Regions from separate parts of the Homo sapiens genome. Here regions 1, 2, 3, 4 and 6 are each linked to region 5. The links are contacts of gene promoters, found by promoter capture Hi-C in blood cells and fetal thymus (Javierre and others, 2016). All regions are on one chromosome and are shown on one strand. Each heading gives the region's core, a stretch centred on a gene start or on the middle of the fragment in contact. The rest is flanking DNA. Distances are from core to core; before and after follow the strand shown. Region 1 overlaps ATF1 (activating transcription factor 1). Region 2 overlaps TMPRSS12 (transmembrane serine protease 12). Region 3 holds the start of TMT1A (thiol methyltransferase 1A). Region 4 overlaps CSRNP2 (cysteine and serine rich nuclear protein 2). Region 5 holds the start of BIN2 (bridging integrator 2). Region 6 holds the start of TMPRSS12 (transmembrane serine protease 12).

Region 1 (3,722 bases), core at 859-3,358, 510 kb before region 5:
AAGTTCAAAAAGTAGAAAAGTTATATTTGGTTTTTGTGATTTTTTTTTTTAAGACAAGGTCTCACTGTGTCACCCACACTGGAGTGCAGTGGCACAATCTTGGCTTACTGCAACCTCTGCCTCCAGGGCTCAAGTGATCCTCCCAGCTCGGCCTCCCAAGTAGCTGAGACTACAGATGTATACCACCACACCCAGCTAATTTTTTTTTTTTTTCTTGTAGAGGTGGGGTTTTGCCATGTTGCTTAGGCTGGTCTCAGACCTGGGCTCAAGTGATCCATCCACCTGCCTCAGCCTCCCAAAGTGCTGGGATTACAGGCATGAACCACTGCACCCAGCCCCCAAAAATTTAAAATTAGCTAGTACAACCACTATGAAAACCAGTATGGAGACTTCTCAAAAAACGAAAAATAGAAATCTACCCAAAGGAAAAGAAATCAATATATCAGAGGGATACCTGTACTCATAAGTTTACTTGCAGCACTATTCACGCACAATAGCTAATAGAATCAACTATGTGTCCATCAGTGGATAAATGGATAAGAAAGAATTAAATCATGTCATTTGCAGCAACATGGATGGAATTGAAGGTCAGTATCTTAAGTGAAATAAGCCAGGCACAAAAAGAAAAAATATCACATTCTCACTTATATGTGGGAGCTAAAATATTTGAACACATGGAAGTAGAGAGTGGAAAAATAGGGCTGGGCGTGGTGGCTTATGCCTGTAATCCCAGCACTTTGGGAGGCCGAGGCGGGAGGATCACTTGAGCCTAGGAGTTCAATGCAAGCCTGGGCAACATACCCATTGCTACAAAAGATAAAAAATTAGCCAGGCATGGTGGCGTGTGCCTAAAATCCCAGCTACTCGGGAGGCTGAGGTGGGAGGATTGCTTGAGCCCAGGGGGTTGAGGCAGCATGATCGCACCACTGCACTTCAGCCTGGGCAACAGAGCAAGACCCTATCTCAAGAAAAAAGAGAGAATGGAAAAATAGGTAACAGAGACTGGGAACGGTGAGGGGCAAGGAGGAGGATGAAGAGAGTTAAAGGGTACAAACCCATACACAGTAAGATAAAAGGAATAAATTCAGTGTTTCATAGCAGAGTAGGATGACCACCCTTAACAAAAACCTATTAATACTCAGGTGATGGACACCCTGAATCCCCTGACTTGATCGCTACACATTATATACATGTAACAGATTTTCTCATGTGCTCCATAAATATGCACAGAAACATTTTAATGGAAAAAACCATACAGGCCAGGCGTGGTGGCTCACACGTGTAATCCCAGCATTTTCGGAGGCCAAGGCAGGAGGATCACTTGAGCCCAGGAGTTTGAGACCAGCCTGGGCAATATAGGGAGACCCCATCTCTAAAAAAAATTTAAAACATTAGCTAGATGTGGTAGAGGCAGGAGAATCACTTGAACCTGGAGGCAGAGGTTGCAGTGAGCCATGATCACGCCATTGTACTTCAGCCTGGGCAACAGAGCAAGACTCTTGTCTCAAAAATAAAACAAACAAAAAAAAACACACAAGTAGTTAATAATCATATAAAAGACTACTCAGCCTTATTAGTAATCAAAGAAATACACATTAATGCTACACATTTAGATACCCTTTATACCCACCCAATTGGCAAAAATTTTAAAGTCTAACCAAGAGTTGGCAAGGATTTGGAACAATGGTCAGGAATTCATAGATACTACTATAGGAGTGTAAATTGATGCAGCCATTTTGGAAATTAGGCCTTATCTTGTACAGTTGACGTGGGTATACTCTGTGACCCAGCTGTTTTAGTCTGTGTGACTGAGAGGAACTTGGAGGAAGTATGTATAAGAATTTTCATAGCAGCAAAAAATCAGGAAACAACCTCAAGATTCATTGATAACAGAATAGGTACATATTGAGCCTAAACATAAAAATGGGGGGAAAAAAGAATAGGTACATAAATTGTGACTGTATTTATAGAATGGAATGTTTATTTGTAATGACTGAATGAATAATCATTTCAACATGAATAAATCTTAGAAAAATTGAATGAAAAAACAAGTTGCAACAGAATACACAAAGTATGATATTTTATAATTTTAGAAAATAAATGATAGCAGTTTTAGGGTCATATACGTATATACTACAACTATAAAAATAAGAAATGAGATGTCACGTAGCAAAAATTATAAAGTGGTAATACTGTCTGTCATTGGGCATATAAGGAAAAGGGTACCTCACATACATTACTGAGGGAAGTACGGAGTTTTATGGTATCTACTTGCCCCAACATTTCTACTTGTATGTGACAAAAGATACCATAAAGAAACTTAAAAATAAGTCTGTTAACTGGGAAAAATATTTGCAACTTTTATATAAAGAGAAAGAATTACGAGATGTATAGGTTATATAAAGATTTATTTCTGTAAATAAGAGACCTAACAGAAGGAAACCGGTCTGTGAAAGATGGCCTTGTAAACATGAAATTATTCCAAACTTTGTGCATAATGAGGGAAATGTTAAAGCAGTGAGGTTCGCTTTTTGTCAGCCGCTAGACTGACAACCATTTTAAAATGTTCATAACAGGCACTCTCATGTACTGCCCCTGGGAATGTAAATGGTACAAATACTCTGGAGGACATTCTGGCATTTTTTCCCTTTTTTCTTTCTGGTTTGACTCTGGGATTTTTTTCCTTCCTTTTTTCCCCCCTTATTTCTCTGTACTTCAATGAATATAAATTGGCACTATCTCTTGACTTTAAGTGAATATAGCTTGTGATCCTTCAAGAAATACATGTGTAGAAATACACGTAAAGAATGGAGGCTGAGTGGGTGGCTCATGCCCATAATCCCGACACCGTGACCAGGAGTGAGACCAGCCTAGGCAACATACTGAGACCTCATCTCTACAAAAATAAAATTAGCTGGTGTGGTGGTGTACACCTGTAGTCCCAGCTACTTGAGAGGCTGAAGTGGGGATATCTTGAGTCCAGGAGGTCAAGGTTGCAATGAGCTGTGATTGTGCCACTGCACTCAGCCTGGTTGACAGAGTGAGACCCTGTCTCAAAACAAAAGAAGAAAAAAGAAAAAGAATGTTTACTGGAAACCACTTAAAACAAACAAACAAACAGAGCTTAAAGGTAAAAATAAAGTCTTTTTGTGAGGGGAAAGATTTTGTACAGTCCTTTTAAAGATGTGTACTAAAAAGCAAGTTGCAAATAGTATCTACATATATAGCATAAAAATCTTAAAATAGTACTGTTTCTTTCTTTCTTTCTTTTTCTGAGACAGAGTCTTGCTCTGTTGCCCAGGGTGGAGTGCAGTGGCGCGATCTTGGCTCACTGCAACCTCCACCTCCCAGCTTCAAGTGATCCTCCTGGGTCAGACTCCCAAGTAGCTGGGATTACAGGCATGTGCCACCACAGCTAATTTTTGTATTTTTAGTAGAGATGAGGTTTTGCCATGTTGGCCAGGCTGGTCTCGAACTCCTGACCTCAGGTGATCTGCCCGCCTTGGCCTCTTAAAGTGCTGGGATTACAGGCATGAGCCACCATGCCTGGCCAATACTTCCGATTTCTATATGTATATAAACTTACATATGACTTCACAGAAATGTTTTAAGAGGACATGCACAGAACTGAGTATTTGCTCAAGCATTGTTTGTAATTTGAACTTAAATAAAAGAAGTCATGTGTCAGAAGTTAACCAGAGGACCCATAATTTCACTCTTTG
Region 2 (4,092 bases), core at 674-3,173, 460 kb before region 5:
TTTTTTTTTTTTGAGAGGGAGTCTTGCTCTGTCTCCAGGCTGGAGTGCAGTGGCGCAATCTCGGCTCATTGCAACCTTTGCCTCTTGGGTTCAAGTGATTCCTCTGCCTCAGCCTCCCCAGTAGCTGGGACTACGGGCACGTGCCACCACACTCGGCTAATTTTTTGTATTTTAGTAGAGACGGGGTTTCACCATGTTGGCCAGGATGGTCTTGATCTCCTGACCTCGTGATCCACCTGCCTCGGCCTCCCAAAGTGCTGGGATTACAGGCGTGAGCCAGGTGCACCCGGCCTAATATATCATCTTTCACAATGTCATACAGTTTCATGATCTTTAAAGTGAGAGCAATGATACCCATCAGAGAGTTGTTTTGAGAATTAAATTAGTTCTCCAGCAACATGGTAGTTTACATGTACATACCAAGCTCCCCACTGAAAACTATTAAAGAGGGAGAATACATAGGTTAAGGACTCGGTGTGACGATAGAAACTTAGACAGGGAACTGGAACACGGAAGTTGACTTTGATCTTGAGGGTATTCGCCAAAATGTTAACTTTTAATATTGACTTCAGTGGTTTCATAGGCCTTGGAAGGAAATGGTTAAAGAATAAAACTTGTCCAAGTTGGGAAGTAGGGAAGACACTCCCATAAAGCTGGAGTCTGTCCCATGGCTATACTTTAAAAATGAGTCACACTCATGACCCAGCATATAATTTTTTTTTTTTTAAAGACAGAGTCTTGCTCTGTCACCCAGGCTGGAAGGTGGTGATGCGATCTCAGCTCACTGCATCTTCCGCCTCCTGGATTCAAACAATTCTTGTGCCTCAGCGTCTCCAGTAGCTGGGATTACAGAGGTGTACCACCACGCCCAGTTAATTTTTGTATTTTTAGTAGAGATGGAATTTCGCCATGTTGGCCAGGCTGGTCTCAAAACTCCTGGCCTCAAGTCATCTGCCCACCTTGGCCTCCCAAAGTGCTAGGACTACAGGCGTGAGCCCCTGCACCCGCCTTGTTCTTATATATATAGTATACTTCAAATGTGATCTAGGTAGGTTAAAAAAAAAAGGAGGGAAAAATACACATGGCTACATTAATCAAAAGAAAGCTGGATTACACGTGTAATCCTAGCACTTTGAGGGGCTGAGGTGGGAGGACTGCTTGAGGCCAGGAGTTCGAGACCAGCCTGAGCAACATAGGGAGACCTCGTCGCTAAAAAAATTAGCCAGGTATGGTAGTGCATGTCTATAGTCCCAGCTATGTGGGAGGATCACTTGAGCCCAGGAGTTCGAGGTTATGGTGAGCTATGATAGCACCACTGCACTCCAGCCTGGGTAACAGAGAAAGACCCTGTATCCAGACAAAAAAAGGAAGCTGGAATGGAAAAAAGAGAAAGTAGGAATGGCTATATAAATATCAGATAAAGTAGACTTACAGCAGAGAAGATTACAAGGATGGTGAGAGACATTACATAATAATAAAAGGCCCTCAGTCCACCAAGAAGACATAGCAATGCTAAACGTGTGTACACCAAAAAACAGACATATGGTTTCTTAAAAACATACATGTGAACATACACTTACCATATGACCCAGCAATTGTACCCCTAGATATTTATCCCAGAGAAATACAAATGTCCACACACAAAAAAACTATTTACAGATGTTCATGAAAGCTTTATTTTAAAAGCCAAAAACTAAAAACAACCAAAATGTCCTTCAATAGGAGAATGCTTAAATAAACTAGTATAGCCTTACCATAGAATATAACTAAGCAGTTAAAAGGTATGAACGATTGATAGATGCAACAAGTTAGATGGACAAGGGCATTATGTTGAGTGAAAAGAAGCCAATTTTAAAATGTCATATATGATTCCAAGTATATAACAATGAAATGACAAAATTATGCAGACAGAGAATAGATTAGTAGTTGCTAGGGTTAAGAAGGTTAGGTAGCATGAAGGAGATTTTTGTCCTGATGGAATAACTCTATGCCCTGTTTTTTTGTGGTGGTTTCATGAATCTACACACACATTGTATTAATGTCAGTCTCCAGATTTTGATACTGTATTTCAGTGACAGAGATGTAACCATTGTAGGAAACTGCATAAAATGTACACTTGACTTTTTAGTGCTATCTTTGCAACTACCAATAACTCCATAATTATTTTAAAATAAAAAGCTTTTTAAATGAACCACATATAACCAACAAATCCTCACCTCCTATCGCCATCCCCATGTTTACTGGGAAAACTGCCTAATGGAAGGGGGAAAAGCTAGAAATTCCCTCTCCCCAAAATATGTAACTATAAATACCACTCACACGGATTTGCTATCCAAAGTAACACTGAGTAGACTACAAAGCTTCAAGCTGAGAATTTAGTTTAAAACAGGTTCTAGCTTAGTAACATCCCAAGATTTGATCCTGACAACATCAAATGCAAATTATTTATATAGAAACCCAACTTCATCTAAGGCTTCAAAGAATATAACCAGATAAAGTTGCAGTGAAATCGAATGGATTACAATAAAAAGATCACAAATAATTAATATATTTAACATACATATCTAATATAATTAAATATAATAACTGAAATTAATTCAATGGGCTAAAGTTTAGAAGCACTTAAGATCCCACAGATTAAAATCAACCAAATATCAGTTCAAAGATCACCAAACACATAAGGAAACAAACCATTAATAGTGAAAGCCAACAGAAACAACAAACATATTAAGCCTCCCAAGGACTTCAGATATTAATATTTTTAGGTATAGAATAAAAAAATATGTAAATTGTTTAAAGAACTAAAAGGTAGAATTAAAAATGAGCAATAGACTATTGTTTTGTTTTGTTTTGTTTTTTTGAGACGGAGTCTTGCTCTGTCACCCAGCTGGAGTGCAGTGGCGAGATCTTGGCTCACTGCAAGCTCCACCTCCAGGGTTCACGCCATTCTCCTGCCTCAGCCTCCTGAGTAGCTGGGACTACAGGCGCCCACCACCACACCCAGCTAATTTTTTGTGTGTTTTTAGTAGAGACAGGGTTTCACCGTGTTAGCCAGGATGGTCTCGATCTCCTGACCTCGTGATCCACCCACCTCGGCCTCCTAAAGTGCTGGGATTACAGGTATGAGCCACAGGGCCCGGCCAAAAATCAGCAATAGACTATTTAGAAGGACTAGGCACTAGAATCTTTAAAAATGAAAAACGTAATTGCTAGTATTTAAAACTCATTGGATAGGCTGGGTGCGGTGGCCCATGCCTGTAATCCTAGCACTTTGGGAAGCCAAGGCAGGTGGATCACCTGAGACCAGGAGTTTGAGACCAGCCTAGCCAACATGGTGAAACCCCCAATCCACTAAAAATACAAAAAATTAGCCAGGCATGGTGGTGGGTGCCTGTAATCCCAGCTACTTGGGAGGCTGAGGCAGGAGAATCACTTGAACCAGGAGGCAGAGGTTGCAGTGAGCCAAGATCATATCTTTGCACTCCAGCCTGGGCAACGAGAGCAAGACTCTGTCTCAAAAAACAAAAACAAAACTCATTGGATAAACTAGATATCATATTAGACACAGCTGAAGAGAGGATTTGTGAACCAGAAGATATATCTGAAGGAACTTCCTAGACTGTAGCACCGAAGGGAAAAAAGAGAAAACATGAAATAAGGTATAAGAAGGATAGAATGAGAAAATCTAATATACATCTAATGTGAGTGCCAGAGAGGAAGGAATAAAGAGGATAGAGGAGAGGCAATATTCAATGGATTTGGGTTGAAATTTCTTAAAAATTGATGAAAGACATGAATCCAGATAAAATATTAATAGGCACAATATTAGCCAAAACAAAACGTAATCCCCTTTCATACATTATACTGAAGTTGAACAACAAAGAAAAAAAAAAAACAGAAGATCTGAAATGTAGCCAGAGATAAAAGAAAAATCTTTATAATAGAATTACAGATTAGTTTTCAGACTTCTCAGTAGGAATAATGAAAGCCAAAAGACACCCTCTCCTGTTGCCGTGTGAAGATGTGCTTGCCTCCCCTTTGCCTTCTGCCATGATTGTAGGTTTCTTGAGGCCTACCCTCAAGAAACATAGC
Region 3 (4,013 bases), core at 158-2,657, 400 kb before region 5:
AAGCGGATGGATGCTTGAAACTATTTTCTGAATCCCTTTGGCTCCCAAATGTGAATATTCTGGGAAATATTTTTATCCAAATTAGCTGAGTAATCGAGTAGTTAGGCACATTTTGAAGACTGAGGCTTGTCCTTTAAAAGAAGGGCAGCCCACAAACTGACTTCCTTGAGCCAAAAATTGTTTTAAAAGGGGAAGTACAGCCCAAAACAGTGATTTTAAAATATCAACAAAAAGAGTCAAATTCTGTAAAATATTTAAAGAGATTTATTCTGAGCCAAATATGAGTGACCATGTCCTGTGACACAGCCCTCGGGAAATCCTGAGAACATGTGCCCAAGGTGGTCAGGGTACAGCTTGGTTTTCTACATTTTAGGGAGACATGAGGCTTCAATCAAATACATTTAAGAAATACATTGGTTCAGTCCAGAAAGGCAGGACAACCCGACGCGAGGCAGGGAGCTTCCAGGTTATAGGTACGTTTTAAATTTTTCTGGTTGACAATTGGTTGAGTTTATCTAAAGACCTGGGATCAATAGAAAGGAAATGTCTGGGTTGCAATAAGAGTTGTGGAGACTGAAGTTTTATTATGCAGATGAAGCCTCCAAGTAGCAGGCTTCAGAGAGAATAGATTGTAAATGTACTTAAGGTCTGCGTTGATGTGAATGCCGGCTTGAGGTATAATGAGGCATATCTGACCCCCACTTCCCCTCATGGCCTGAAACAATCTCTCAAGTTAAATTTTAAAAGCGCCCTGGCCAAGGAGAAAGTCCATTCAGATGGTTAGAGGCCTTAGAACATTATTTTTGGTTTACAAAAACGTTGAGTTGTGAACACTGAGAGCCTCTGCCCAGAATGTAAAAGAGAGAATTCTTGCTGACTGTGGCCGGGCATGCATGTCCTTTCACTTCCTTTTTTTTTTTTTAAAAAAAAAAAAAAAAAAAAAAAAAACAGGGTTTGGGCGGGGGAAGTAAGGGGGATGTGTTATGATAAAGGGGCCTTGGCAGCACTCTTCTGGTGTGGTTTGACCAGGCTCCACCCACGAATTCTGTTTTCTTTTAGAGGTCACTGGAGAGCCCGGTGGGGTGTAAGTACACTGCGCTTATAAAACTCTAGCAGGAAGCTAGCAGCTGTCTCCAAACCCAGAGAAGGGGAAACAGGAATCGATTAGGAATAAAGGATTATAATCCACTTTCCTTCTGAGGAAAAGCTGGGAACCTTCTCATTTTGCCTTATGAAAACTAAGCTGAATCGACTGCTGCCAAACATCTATTAGGCAAAATTGGCCTCTTGCCCATGATTTGACTTTCCAGCACAGCCAGTTCTTTTTCTCCTCTGCAGCTGATTGGCTCTGGAGTGTGGCCAGAAGCCTCTCTCCTGCAATTAAAGGAGTCGGGTCTCTAACTGTTGATCTGTTTTTTTCCCTTCTGAGCAATGGAGCTTACCATCTTTATCCTGAGACTGGCCATTTACATCCTGACATTTCCCTTGTACCTGCTGAACTTTCTGGGCTTGTGGAGCTGGATATGCAAAAAATGGTTCCCCTACTTCTTGGTGAGGTTCACTGTGATATACAACGAACAGATGGCAAGCAAGAAGCGGGAGCTCTTCAGTAACCTGCAGGAGTTTGCGGGCCCCTCCGGGAAACTCTCCCTGCTGGAAGTGGGCTGTGGCACGGGGGCCAACTTCAAGTTCTACCCACCTGGGTGCAGGGTGACCTGTATTGACCCCAACCCCAACTTTGAGAAGTTTTTGATCAAGAGCATTGCAGAGAACCGACACCTGCAGTTTGAGCGCTTTGTGGTAGCTGCCGGGGAGAACATGCACCAGGTGGCTGATGGCTCTGTGGATGTGGTGGTCTGCACCCTGGTGCTGTGCTCTGTGAAGAACCAGGAGCGGATTCTCCGCGAGGTGTGCAGAGTGCTGAGACCGGTGAGTGAAAGGGTGTGAGGAGGACTAGTTAGTAGCAGCTATTATCATAGAGGGCAGGCCTGTCAATTTCAGGTGGCTGAAACATTTTAACATAAAAAGTAAACTACTAGAAAATACTGTAGAATTTTTTAAAATTTTAGCGTGGGAGAGAAGCTATAAAGAGAAAGATTGATAAATCTGAATATAAAAACTTAAAACTGCTATAAAGAAAAAACCTCCTGGCCGGGCACAGTGGTTCACGTCTGTAATCCCAGCATTTTGGGAGGCCAAGGCAGGCAGATCGCTTGAGGTCAGGAGTTCGAGACCAGACTGACCAATATGGTGAAACCCCATCTCTATTAAAAATACAAAAATTAGCCAGGCATGGTGGCAGGTGCCTGTAGGCAGGAGAATCGCTTGAACCTGGTGGGGCAGAGGTTAAAGTGAGCCAAGATTGCACCACAGCACTCCAGCCTAGGCAACAGAGTGAAACTCCATCTCAAAAAAAAAAAAAAAAAAAAAAAGAAAGAAAGAAAAAAAAGAATAAGAAAAAAAAACTCCCCAAAACAAAGTTAAACTACAAAACAAGCTTGGAAAAAATATTTGCCAGGGATGATAGACAAAGGGTTAACTTCCCTCATGTTAAAAGACATTACATGTCAATAAGATCAATATTTTTCAATAAGAAAAACAAAAGGGAAAATGGGCAAATAACAGGAACAGAAATGTAAACCAATTATAGGACAAAAGTGCTCAAACTTAAAGAGTTAATTAAAGGAGATACTAATTTTACCTATTATACTGTTAGGGACTTCTTTTAAGGTCAGTATAGGGTTGGGGTGGGTTTAGGGGACTGGACACCACCATACACATTAGAAGAGGTACCCTCTTTGGGTGGTATCTGATAATATCAAAATTTAAACCACACATACTCTTTTATCCACATGCAAAAACTTGTCCATACACAAGAATATTAAGTAGAATTTGTAATTGCACAAACTGGAAATAACTGAAATGTCTATCAATAGGATGCTATGTAAGTGAGTTGTCATATTGTATAAAGGAACACTGTGCAGCTGTCAGAAAGAACAAGAAGAGTTATCTGTGCTGATACTTAAAAATCCCCAAGGGATAATGTTTAATGAAAACAAAAAGCAATCAAGCCACAGAATGTTAGGTAGAGCGTAGGCCCACCACATGCCCATTGTGTGAGGCAGGGAGAGGAGATACATATATGTGTATAAGTTAATGGGAATGACAGACAAGTAACTATTAACAGTGGTTGCCTTTGGGGAATGGGATTGGATTCAGGGAAAGAATTACTTTTCATTTTAAACCTTTCCGTAAAGTCTGTAATTCTTTATACCTGTATGTAGTTTTCACATATTACCCTTATTATTTTTAGCTAGTTTAAAATCGTTTTATATTCTGAACAAAGTTGAAGATATGGATATCTTAACATTTGAATTTACTCTTCTGGGGGAAAGGCATGTTTTGTAATCCCCAGTTTTCATTTTTTGTTGAGACAGGGTTTCCCTCTGTCACCCAGGCTGGAGTGCAGTGGCATGATCACAGCTCACTGCAGCCTTGACCTGCTGGACTCAAGCAATCTTTCCGTCTCAGCCTCCCCACCCTCCCAGCAGCTGGGACTACAGGCATGCACCACCACACCCAGCTAGTTTTTGTATTTTTGTAGAGATGAGGTTTCGCCATGTTGCCCAGGCTGGTCTCAAACTCCTGGGCTCAAGTGGTCTGCCCACTTTGGCCTCTCAAAGTGTTGGGATTACAGGTGTGAGCCACCATGCCCAACCATCAGTTTTATTTTCTAATAGAGGAAGTTCCTCAGGAAGAAAAGAACTTGGAGATAGGGTTTAGGGAAAATCATACAATCCTGTCTTGGCTCAATATCAGAGTAGTAAATAAAAAAGGACTGATTCTTATACCCAAATGCTGGGTTCTTATATGCTAAGACTGGGCACCAACTGGCACATTAGTAGATGTTTTGCTTACAGTGTTACTAATCTCCCAACACCGCTGCAAGGCAGGTAATTATTATCTCAGTTTTCCAGTGCCAAAAATCAATTGAACTCTTAAAGTTATCACAT
Region 4 (3,678 bases), core at 677-3,176, 260 kb before region 5:
TGGTGGTGGGCGCCTGTAGTCCCAGCTACTCAGGAGGCTGAGGCAGGAGAATGGCGTGAACCCGGGAGGCGGAGCTTGCAGTGAGCCGAGATTACGACACTGCACTCCAGTCTGGGCGACAGAATGAGATTCTGTCTCAAAAAAAAAAAAAAAAAAAAAGTTAATGGAATGAGAAAATGGGAGCCCAGAGTAGGGACAGGGCTAAGCTCCAACAGAGCAGGAGCAAGGCCTGCTTCAGCTGAACAGGTACACAAGGGCATATGAACCAAGTCCAGCTCTTGGTACTCCAAAGAGAATATTCTATTTTTCCATCACAAAATGTTTCTATTGTTAACATTAATTCCTAACTGACCTAATTAGTTTTATAACGAAGCTAGAGAAGCATCCTTTTTCTAACAAGTAACTGAACTGTGGCCTGCCGAGACAAAGAGTAACACATCATTCTTTTGAATATTTCTTTAATATTACATTTAAATATTCTCTTTAAATACAGCATTATCACAATGTAAAGAACCTAAAGGGGAAAAAATTATTTTCAGAGAACCAGACAAGCTTTGGATTCACATTGAAAATACTACCTGTGTACAGTATGTGAGAAAGGAAATTGGAAAATAATAAGGGTTGTGGTAATAAGAGTCATTTATCTAGGCCTAGACTGGGACTGAAGCTATCTGCTTCTATGATCAGAGGCCTAGCTTTCCTAGCAACCATGAGCTAGAATTCTGTCCAACTCAGGTAGCACCAGAAGTGAGATGGACTAGGTTGTAGAGAAGGCCTTTCGCTTGACAAGACAGTTAATGCTAAATGTTAATATTTAGCACTTAAAAGTTTGGGATCAGTGTGAGTCACAACTGTAGCGTTAATGAAGGGGATGGACTTAAATTAAGAAACTACAGGTTTTCAGAAACATATCTTGTGGGTTGGCAATGAGCTTAATAATTACAGATTCATATTCCTGGTTTGATCCCAAAAGCTAATGTGTTCCTCATCGTGCAGCTGGAATCTACTTCCTAGATTAAGCCGGAGCCTTCCTGCAGAGACAGTGGGCAAACCTCACCCTCCCCTTCCGACACAAACTTTGAAAAAGATTCTTTTCTCCATAAAGCCAAATTCCCAATTAAGCTTCAGTCCTGTGTTTGAGGGTACCAGTCTAAGGTAGGGGAGTCTAGTTCAGTTCTGGGTAGCTTCGAGAGCTCAGGTACTTAAAAGACTCTCAACTGTGTTTTGTGAGGCTAGGGGATGGGGAGAGATAAGGATCTGTGTACTTAAGTTCCCCTCCAAACTAAAACCAAGCAAAAACTGGAACAAATAGGAAAGGCAGAATGAACTAAAAAATGTTATGTGTATTAAATACAAATCTTTTCAGGCTCAGAGTTTAGAGACTTCAGGGGTGAAATGCTGCTGCGACATACGTGATGGTTTCTGTAAGACACCAGGGCCTTAATATCCCACCAGAAAAGGCTTTATGAGCAAGATAAGTAGGAGTAGTGTCTCCCCCCCAACACAGTTTTTCACTTTTGTGTGTGTGTGTGGTTAATAAACCATACCAGAAGTAAAGTATGGTGTAAAGGATGCTTGAGAAGAATAGTTTTGCTCCCTACTGCCTCCATTTTAGAACAGAGACAAAGATCACTTTGCTAATGAAAGGAAATCAGTGCTGTTCAATGGAGATCTTAGAACACAGGATGAACAGGAACTGTATTCCTCCTGACAGAGGTAAGAACTGAATCAAACTGAATGAGTTCCATTCTATACGCTTCAAAGGTTATAATTAGAACTTGAATCCTTTGGAATCTGGGAGTTGCATGTAGCATTTAAGAACTGGTTTGGCTTCCAATTTTTATATATCATCAAGATGGAGGGGTCCAATAAACATTTGCAATTCTTGGAATTGAACTGGAACAGTATAAGAACTCTAACCCGCTATGTTGAAAACGACCATGAGGGTAGATCCAGGAAAAAAGAACAAAAACTGATTGGTGACCTTAAGATTGCCACATTCTACATTCCACTAAAGCTCAGATCTCACAAAGAGGGAAAAACCTGGGTGAAAAAACAAGCATGGCACAAATATGTCATCTTTCCAGATAGCAAGCAGCCTGTTCCCGCTGCCTCCTTTGGCCACAGTTAATGCTCCACATAGGCCTCCTATGGGATGGGTGAGCCCCAGCCGAAAGCTGCCTGACAGTGCTAGTGTCAGACACGTACAGAAGGCTCAGGCTCGTTATACCATATCCCCAGCCAATCCAGCTCTTTCTCCGAAGGAAAAAGGATGGAGAGAAAAAAGACACATAGACAAGTTTAACTCTAGTACTTAAGAACATGTGGAAGAAACAATTCAAGTTACAGACCAGGAATCCCCAGTGTGGGGAACAGGTCAGAGAACACCAAACATGTCAAATATTAACTTATTTACCAAATATGGGATTGAAGGAAGGCAGGTTACATTTTTGTAAATCCTGGAGATTTTGTACAGAAGCAGAGACCCTTCCACTCCCTCCTCCCTAGACTCGACCAGGTGACTTTCCAGTTTGAAGTATTATGACACACCAAAATGGGATATCAGAATAACCACCGAGAAAAATGAGCTTGTACTCTGCCTGGGGCTTGGGAGAGAAAGGGCTTTGCCATGCTCTTCAAATTCTCGTGTTCTGGTCCCTACAGAAAGAATAGCTGCTTGAGTTACCCAGCTTTTCCTGTGAGATCCTAGTTCTTTGTTCCAGTGGCCCAGAAAGCTTAATGTTCAGCACTACGCAGCTTTCTTTGCCCCAAGACTATCCCCAGATCAAGGTAGGGCTGGTCTCCTTGGTACTGTTTCCCTTTTAAAAAATACTCAAACAATCCTTTCCCACCCATTCCCCAAAGACCCCAATAAAATAACATGGGAGCAGCAGCTGCTTCTACAGTTTTGTTTTGAAATGGTGTTAGATAAAATAAGGGAATAAATAGAGAATGGGTAAGAGGCAGGACCTCTAGCGCCTGTCACACTGCCAGAGGGAGTTCTAAGGAAGAATCTTCAGGGGGCCGATCCTCATTCTGCTGGGAGGTCTTCACCATCCCACAGCCCTCTTCATTGTCCGTGCGGAAGGGGAGGCTTGAGGGGGACCAGGAAGGGTGGAAGTCTTCATTTTCAGGCTCCTCAGGGTTACAATCTTCGGGCAATAGAGCTTCTAGGGTGGGTGTTTTCCCCACCTCTGATTTACAGAGGGCAGCTGGGTCTGTGGAGCTACAAGCCACGAGTGAGGTAACAGGGAGAGAGAAGACATTCAGATCCTTCTCCTTTGGGAAAGAGGCTGAGCCTTCTTCCGTACCAGGCTCTCCTTTCACTCCCAAGACTGGCCTCTGCTCCACTTGATAATAGACCAGGGGCCCACTGTTCAAGTAGGATGGGCTGTTCACCGTTGAGGCAGTTGGGTGGTCTGAGTTCTCGGTAAAACACAGGACAGAGGAGCCTGGGGGCAGCTGAGCCTGGATGAGAATGGGGGCTGTAAGGCCTGGGCACAGCTCTTCGGGGACAGCCAGAGGCTCCTCTAGGATGCACACACCCAGGCTCTCGATGCTCGAGTCCAGGCTGGCACTAGAGCCGCTGGAATCTTCTTCTGCCTTGAGCCGCTCCAGTTCCTCTGCACTCTGCAGGTGCATCACTGCTGTCTCATTCTCAGCAATGAACTCCTGGAA
Region 5 (3,491 bases), core at 882-3,381:
GGAATTCCTCATGGCAGATTTGAGTTTGCTCCTCTTTCTCTACTTCCTCAGGGTTCAGGCCAGAAGAACCTGAGAGACTGGTTCTGTCTTTGGGAAGTATTTGACTCTGAGTCTAATGTGACAGCTTTTCAATTTAGTGTTCTTACCATATTGAGTTTCATCAAGAACATCAACCCTCTCATTTTACAGGTGCAAGATCTGAAGCCCAGAGCAGGACATTATTTAGCCAAGGTTTGGAGTCTATGCTTACAAAGGAGTGAAAGCCCAAAGCAAGGTTTTAGTGTTGACGAGAGGCTAGATGAAGACAGAAGATGCAAGAGTGAAATACAATCAATTGTATGTCTTTTATTTTTATGTATTTATTTTTATTTTTTGAGACAGAGTCTCCCTCTGCTTGAGTGTGGTGTGGTGTGATCACTGCTCACTGCAGTCTTGATCTCCTGGGCTCAAGCAGTCCTCCCACCTTGGCCTCCCAAAGTGCTGGGATTACAGGAGTGAGCCACTGTGCCTGGCTGGTATGTCTTTTTAAAATTACTATCATTCATGAGTGTTTTGTCTTTTAGGGTTTTTTTTTTTTTCAACCACAGTGTGGCCTTCTCTCCAGTACCTCCTGCTCGCCCACACTGTTTCGAGCTAGACCTTCCCATAGGCCCTGCTCTCGGGTCTACCAGATTTGTAAGTCTTCAGAGAGGCTGAAACTAGGATCAAGGTGAAGTTAGGGTAAGTGAAGTAACGAAGTCTGGCTACACGAACTCTTTCCCTTTTCCTCCTCTCTTTCACATGACCTCAAATGATAGAAAATAACCTCCCTTCCATTGTGGTCTCTTAAAGTCAGGAGCTACATCTACATTCCATCAGTTTTCTGCTGATAAATCAACTCGGGAGAGCTGGTTGCCTTTAAGCCTTCCCAGGGCTCAAAGCAGTGCTCCACTTTTAGAAGATAATAGGGATATTTCAGTTGGTAAGCAGAGCTGTTCATCCAAATGCTTCTAAGTCCATCAGCTCTTAGAAAACCAAAACTTCTCCGTTGTAGAAGGCAGGTTGGGCTTAATAAAGAGAGAGAGAAAAAAAGGAAAACCGAAACTCTATCTCAGGTCCTTCTTGTCTTTCTTCCCTCGCTCTTTCTTCTGGCTGACATGTCTTCCCAAACCGCCTTGTCTACTAGAGGGTTGGTAGGTGGAGAGCAGAGGCTCAGGTTAGAAGCAAAGAAAATATTCTGTACAGGTAGAAACAAAAATGCCATCAAAATGTGTAGAGAATGTCCCCACAATTTAGATTGCCAAGCAAGTAATAGATGGGCAGCCCACCTAAGTGCCAGTGCTGGAGCAGGGCTACCTGACACTAACCAAGGACACACTCTGAACACAGATGTGGTTCATCACCCTGGGAGGTGTACTCCCCAACGCCAAAGGGAGGGTAGAAGAAGCAGATTTGGGCTCCTGCTTACGTCAGCTGAAACACCACCCAGAGGCCAGGCAGGGTCAGGTAGGGGGAGAACTATGCAGGATTATTCTAAGCCTTTGGTGGGGGGTGCCTGCTGGCATCCGCTGCATCGCTGTTTTTGGGGAAATTGCCCTCTATGGAAAATTACCCTCCAATTTCATCATCTGTAAAATACCAATTTTGGATTGCTAGCACAAAATTTGATACAAAGGTGGCCACCACCATCACTTCCTTTCTTTCACCTTTTCTGGGTCAGCCTGAGGGTTGTCGAAGGTTCTGCCCAGAGACTGTTGTCTCCCCAGCTTCCCTTATCCTTGCCCAAGATCGGGTGGCGGTCTCCGACCTCTCTCCAATCTGCCAGTTTTCATGGAAGCCCACTCCTCGCTCCCGTTTCCCTGGGAGAGCGGGAGACCCTTCTCGTCAGCCCAGACCCTTCGGGGCCCCTGAGCACCCTGCCCGCCCCTCCTGCCCGGCCGGGCTCGGCCTCGGCCTCGGCTCCCTGTGGGCCAGACAGACAGCGAGGCCCGGCCACCTACCTTCTCCTGGGCCCTGCTAAACTTCTTCTGCACCTGCTTGGCGAAGAGGCCGGCCGCGCCGCCTGCCTTGCCCTCTGCCATCCTGCCAACTCCCTGGGGGCCGCCGCCCTGGCCCCGCGCCCTGTGGTTTTCTGAGGCCCCCGAGGAGGAAGTGCGGGCTCCCGGCATGCCTCGCATCCGGCCCCAGCCCTGAGCCACCTCAGGCCGCCCCTGGCCAGCCCTGAGGCCCGCCCCTCAGCCCACCACTGTCAGCTGGAGCAGGCCGGCTCGGAGGGGCGGGCCCGGGGCCTACCCTCAGGCAGCGCTCGCTCGAGGCCAGCTTCCGAGCTCCAACCCCTGCCCGAAACCTCGGCCTCACTGAACCAGGTCCTCAGTGGTGGGCCCACACTCACTCGCTCCGGAAAGCCAGTTCCCATCACGCTGAGCACTGCAAAGCAACTGCCACCGCAGGGTAGAAAATGATGTGGGTTCCACTCAGCGAGAGGACCTACCATATCGAAAACACGTTTAGGTTCTCTGAGTATGCATGCGAAGCCGCCATGTACACTGCGTTTCTTGCTCCAGGTAGGCTCTAAGCCTGGAACTGGTAGGGATAGAGTGCAGAAAGCAGGCAGGACACCCGAGCCGGGCTTGAAAGAGAGAAACAGGCCGGGCGCGGTGGCTCACGCCTGTAATCCTAGCACTTTGGGAGGCCGAGGCGGGTGGATCGCCTGAGGTTAGGAGATCAGCCTGACCAATACGGTGAAACCGCGTCGCTACTAAAAATACAAAAATTAGCTGGGTGTGGTGGCGCACGCCTGCAGTCCCAGCTACTCGAGAGGATGACGCAGGAGAATTGTTTGAACCCGGGAGGCAGAGGTTGCAGTGAGCCGAAATCGCGCCACTGCATTCCAGCCTGGGCGACAGAGCGACAGTTCGTCTCAAATAAATAAATAAATAAATAAATAAATAAATAAATAAATGAGGAACAACTAAGCTGGAGATAGAAACAGGGTAGGGGGCTGGTTCTTAGGCAAGAGAATGATCACATTGAAAAAAGGCTGAGGAGGATAGTATGGACGCCCGTGCTGAGCATGAGGAGCAAGTTTTTCTAGTTGGAGTACAGTGTACTGGATGGAGGCAGAATGTGAACACAGACACAGATTGTGCAAATTGGGGTGCGGCTGTTGAGATGACAACTATTGTTTCTTTAGGGAGAAGTTCTCCAAAAAATTCCTCCCTGACCTGTTTGAGGGGATAGCTTGAGATTAGGACACTAGGTGTGGAGGAACCACGTACTCAGATTTTACAGTGCAGGTTAAAATTTCCTCAAGGCAGGGAAGAAGGTCAAAATAACACTTCCTAAGGAGTGGAGGGGGAAGATAGGGCCTGACACAAAATTAGAGGCCCTTGTATGCTACTGTGTTCCTCTTCTTTCTCCAAAACAATCATTACTGCACTCAAGGTCAACTGTGTACCAGGCATTGCTGGGTGTTCTGAAACAAGGATGAATAAAATGCAGTCCCTGACCTT
Region 6 (3,646 bases), core at 199-2,698, 480 kb before region 5:
GCCTTTTTCATTTTATTTGGAGAGATGGGGTCTTGCTTTGTTGCCCAGGCTGGAGTACTGTGGCTATTCACAGGCATGATCTCACTACCAATCAACACAGGAATTTTGATCAACTCCATTTCCAGTCTGGGCCAGTTACCCCTCCTTAGGCAACCTGGTGGTTCCCCACTACCCGAAGGTCACCATATTGATGCCAAACTTAGTTGACCAGTTGACATAGCATACTACAGTCCAGAACTCCTGGGCTCAAGCAATCCTCCTGCCTCAGCCTCCTGAGTAGTAAAACTAAAAAATATATTGTTTAAAGCAGTGCTGTATAATAGAACTACAGGCATGTGCCACCGTGCCCAGCCCACTGCCTGTGTCACTGCTATTTGATGACTTGGCTGCATATACTTGCTTTATGAGTATGTTAAACCTCTACTATCTGTCATAGCAAGACCCGTCATCCTTATCACGTTGGCTATGGGTTTAAAAAAAGAAAAAAAAAGTCATCTTGCCTTGTTTACAAAGGCATACACAATCTGACCACATCTCACACACACAGAAATACACACACCCCAACTGTGTTTTTCTCCTCCTAATATCACCTTCCACTAAAATATCTGGGGAATAAGGACTTTGTTTCTTGTCAGCCCTCAGAGATCAGCTCATGCTGCAATTTGTTTCTCCAATATCACCTCCTCCACCCCAATTTCGGCACAGCTCTGAGACTCTGCTCCCTTCCCCACATGTTACCATGTGTAAGCCCCAAACTCATATACTCCTTTTATCTAATGCTGCCAACTGCACCAGCCTCGGAAGGATGGTATGAGCAAGGCAACTGTCCTTTTATTGACCTCTACGTTAACTCTCCACCACCTCACCAACTTCCCACAGCCCACACGGTCTTCTTATTACTGAAGGTGTTGGGTTAACAAAGGCAAAGTTCAGTATAGGTCAAGATAGGAATGACAGAACAATTTAAAACTGAACATTAGGTATCACTCTTAAAAACTCTGGGTTATGTTAAAGAAAAATTATTCAGTGATACTCATTAAAGCACAGCAAGGCAGACTTTATTCAGGACCATCCAGATAGGGATAGGGACCATGGCAATGGGATTTTGTAATGGGTAGAGGGACTGGGCTAAAATCCAAACAGAGCAGAGCCAAGGGAGAATTTACAGCCACGGAGCAGGAGAGACGTGTCAGTGGATGGAAAATTACTAAGAGGTAGCATCAGGAGTAATGGCATTCCGGCTAACCGACCTAACAGGATTCTTGCTGGACAGGCCAGGGTGATCAGACATCACCTGGGGGATAGTGGTGGATGAGGAAGCCGATCAGACCTTGAGGGTGAGGGGTTCTTTCTAAACTGACCTACCTATTCCTCGGCCGCCTCCCACACCTCCGGGCCTCACTCGCGCCTCCCCGCCAGGCCGTGCGCCCCGCGTGCCCAGGGCGGGTGGGAAGTACCTGCCGCCATCTTGCTCACCAGCCTCCAAAATGCGGCTGGGGCTCCTGAGCGTGGCGCTGTTGTTTGTGGGGAGCTCTCACTTATACTCAGACCACTACTCGCCCTCTGGAAGGCACAGGCTCGGCCCCTCGCCGGAACCGGCGGCTAGTTCCCAGCAGGCTGAGGCCGTCCGCAAGAGGCTCCGGCGGCGGAGGGAGGGAGGGGCGCATGCAGAGGGCAGTACCTGTTCGTGCCTGTCTCTGGGGAGCCTCTCTTACCTTTTCCCCACCGCTATAGTCTTTGAATTCGGGTTTCTCCTTTTCTGTTGTCCCAATGGCCTTTAACCAAAATTTTACATACCTAAGCAGTTTCTAGACCGGCTGTAATAACAGTAGTTGTAATAGTGAAATGACACATTTGTATTGTGAATCTGTATTTTCTCCTCAAAACATTCTGGGTTTTATCATCCCCATTTTATAGATTAATAAGTCAGGGGATAAAGAGTTGAAAGGGAGGGCTATTAGGTGACCATTTCATACTATAGTTGAGAAAAATTAGCCCAACAAGTGAAATGGTGAGCATTAGAATTTGCGGCTCTCGACTCACCGTTCCCAGGCTCTTTAACTGCTATTTCACACAGGGAAGAATGTGATACGTGGCCAAAAATTTTTATTTTTATATTTTTGGGGAATAGAGTTTTAAAATTAATGAATTGTGTTGACTTCATGTCTATTTGTAAGTAATCGATTATGGCATATTTGTCTTAACTCTCCAAGTTTCTTTCAAAATATGGGCGTGTCTCCGGTATGTTAGCTTGCTTTGTGTTTTTAACATAGGAATTTAAAGGATTGCATTAATATGTTCAGCTTAGGAAGTAACACATACTATAGATGCTCAGTCCAAATAATATATCATTTTTATTTTTAGATTGTGGAACAGCACCGCTTAAGGATGTGTTGCAAGGGTCTCGGATTATAGGGGGCACCGAAGCACAAGCTGGCGCATGGCCGTGGGTGGTGAGCCTGCAGATTAAATATGGCCGTGTTCTTGTTCATGTATGTGGGGGAACCCTAGTGAGAGAGAGGTGGGTCCTCACAGCTGCCCACTGCACTAAAGACGCTAGGTACGTATTCAGAACACAACTATTTTTATGCTCTTAGGGGATATTTTGAAGTGATAGAGGACCATTTAACTTCAGCCATTTTCAGCTAAGCTATGTTTGCAAATAGCCATAATGCCTTATATATAGTACAGTGTATTTGTTGAAAGGAATCCTTTATTTATTATTATTATTATTATACTTTAAGTTCTGGGGTACATGTGCAGAACGTGCAGGTTTGTTACATAGGTATACATGTCCATGGTGGTTTGCTGCACCCATCAACCCATCATCTAACTACATTAGGTATTTCTCTTAATGCTATCCCTCCCCTAGCCCCCTACCCAGGAATCCTTTATTTTTTACTTTTTTTTTTTTGAAATGGAGTGTCACTCTGTTACCCAGGCTGGAGTGCAGTGGTGCAATCTTGGCTCACTGCAACCTCCGCCTCCTGGGTTCATGCGATTCTTCTGCCTCAGCCCCCGGAGTAGCTGGAATTACAGATGCCTGCCATCATGTCCAGCTAATTTTTGTATTTTTAGTAGAAAAGGGGGTTTCACCATGTTGGCCAGGCTGGTCTTGAACTCTTAACCTCACGTGATCTGCCCGCCTCAGCCTCCCAAAGTTCTGGGATTACAGGTGTAAGCCACCATGCTCGATCATGGATCTTTTAAATTAGAGGCTGGTAAACTTCCTATAAAGGTAGTAAATATTTTACACTTTGAAGGTCATATGGTCTCTCTCACAATTGCATGAAAACCAGCACTGAAAATAAGTAATTGAATGAGTGTGGCTATAATCCAATAAAACTTTATGAACACTGAAATCTGAATTTCATATGTTTAACGTGTCATGAAATATTGTGGTTGATTCAGCCATTTAAAAATGTAGAGTAGGGCATGTTGGCTCATATTTGTTATCCCAATGCTTTGGGAAGCCAAGACGGGAGGATCACTTGAGGCCAGGAGTTTGAGACCAGCCTGGGAAATATAGCGAGACCCTGTCTCTATATTTAAAAAAATTGTTAATGTAAAAAACATGCTTTATGGACTGTATGAAAACAAGAGACATGCCAGATTTGGCCTTCACTATTAGACTCTTTGAAAAAGA

What was found. Contacts are between HindIII fragments. The CHiCAGO score rates a contact against its expected background, and 5 or more counts as called.
Region 1: a contact is called between a fragment that was not itself captured here and the fragment with the promoter of BIN2 in region 5, in 1 of 17 cell types (activated CD4 T cells). The highest score is 5.2, in activated CD4 T cells.
Region 2: a fragment that was not itself captured here is called in contact with the fragment with the promoter of BIN2 in region 5 in 1 of 17 cell types (endothelial precursors); the score reaches 5.1 in endothelial precursors.
Region 3: a contact is called between the fragment with the promoter of TMT1A here and the fragment with the promoter of BIN2 in region 5, in 9 of 17 cell types (fetal thymus, total B cells, M2 macrophages and 6 more). The highest score is 12.4, in fetal thymus.
Region 4: a contact is called between a fragment that was not itself captured here and the fragment with the promoter of BIN2 in region 5, in 7 of 17 cell types (endothelial precursors, M0 macrophages, naive CD4 T cells and 4 more). The highest score is 6.7, in endothelial precursors.
Region 6: a contact is called between the fragment with the promoter of TMPRSS12 here and the fragment with the promoter of BIN2 in region 5, in 13 of 17 cell types (endothelial precursors, fetal thymus, monocytes and 10 more). The highest score is 16.3, in endothelial precursors.

The regions. Positions count from the first base shown.
Region 1 is chr12:50,815,354-50,819,075 of GRCh38, forward strand. The region is part of intron 6 of ATF1 (activating transcription factor 1); the gene reads left to right. Among named protein-coding and RNA genes, the nearest start is that of TMPRSS12, 26 kb to the right of the region's middle. The HindIII fragment of the contact is 4,813 bases long and covers 1-3,722 here.
Region 2 is chr12:50,861,817-50,865,908 of GRCh38, forward strand. The region is part of intron 3 of TMPRSS12 (transmembrane serine protease 12); the gene reads left to right. Among named protein-coding and RNA genes, the nearest start is that of TMPRSS12, 21 kb to the left of the region's middle. The HindIII fragment of the contact is 506 bases long and covers 1,671-2,176 here.
Region 3 is chr12:50,923,608-50,927,620 of GRCh38, forward strand. It overlaps TMT1A (thiol methyltransferase 1A), which reads left to right and starts at 1,408. Exons shown (of 2, transcript NM_014033.4): 1 at 1,408-1,929. The coding sequence starts at 1,432. RefSeq lists enhancers at 522-731, 1,745-2,288. The HindIII fragment of the contact is 3,129 bases long and covers 1-2,495 here.
Region 4 is chr12:51,060,764-51,064,441 of GRCh38, forward strand. It overlaps CSRNP2 (cysteine and serine rich nuclear protein 2), which reads right to left. Exons shown (of 5, transcript NM_030809.3): 5 at 442-3,678. The coding sequence ends at 2,983. It also overlaps a transcript of LETMD1 not described here. Among named protein-coding and RNA genes, the nearest start is that of LETMD1, 14 kb to the left of the region's middle. The HindIII fragment of the contact is 1,613 bases long and covers 1,121-2,733 here.
Region 5 is chr12:51,322,043-51,325,533 of GRCh38, forward strand. It overlaps BIN2 (bridging integrator 2), which reads right to left and starts at 2,132. Exons shown (of 13, transcript NM_016293.4): 1 at 1,980-2,132. The coding sequence starts at 2,060. LOC105369767 (a long non-coding RNA gene) reads right to left here and starts at 1,966. Exons shown (of 2, transcript XR_944957.3): 1 at 1,686-1,966; 2 at 326-1,161. RefSeq lists an enhancer at 1,658-1,847 and a silencer at 1,878-2,367. The HindIII fragment of the contact is 11,893 bases long and covers 1-3,491 here.
Region 6 is chr12:50,841,478-50,845,123 of GRCh38, forward strand. It overlaps TMPRSS12 (transmembrane serine protease 12), which reads left to right and starts at 1,449. Exons shown (of 5, transcript NM_182559.3): 1 at 1,449-1,674; 2 at 2,365-2,560. The coding sequence starts at 1,488. It also overlaps the pseudogene RN7SL519P. The HindIII fragment of the contact is 6,106 bases long and covers 1-3,646 here.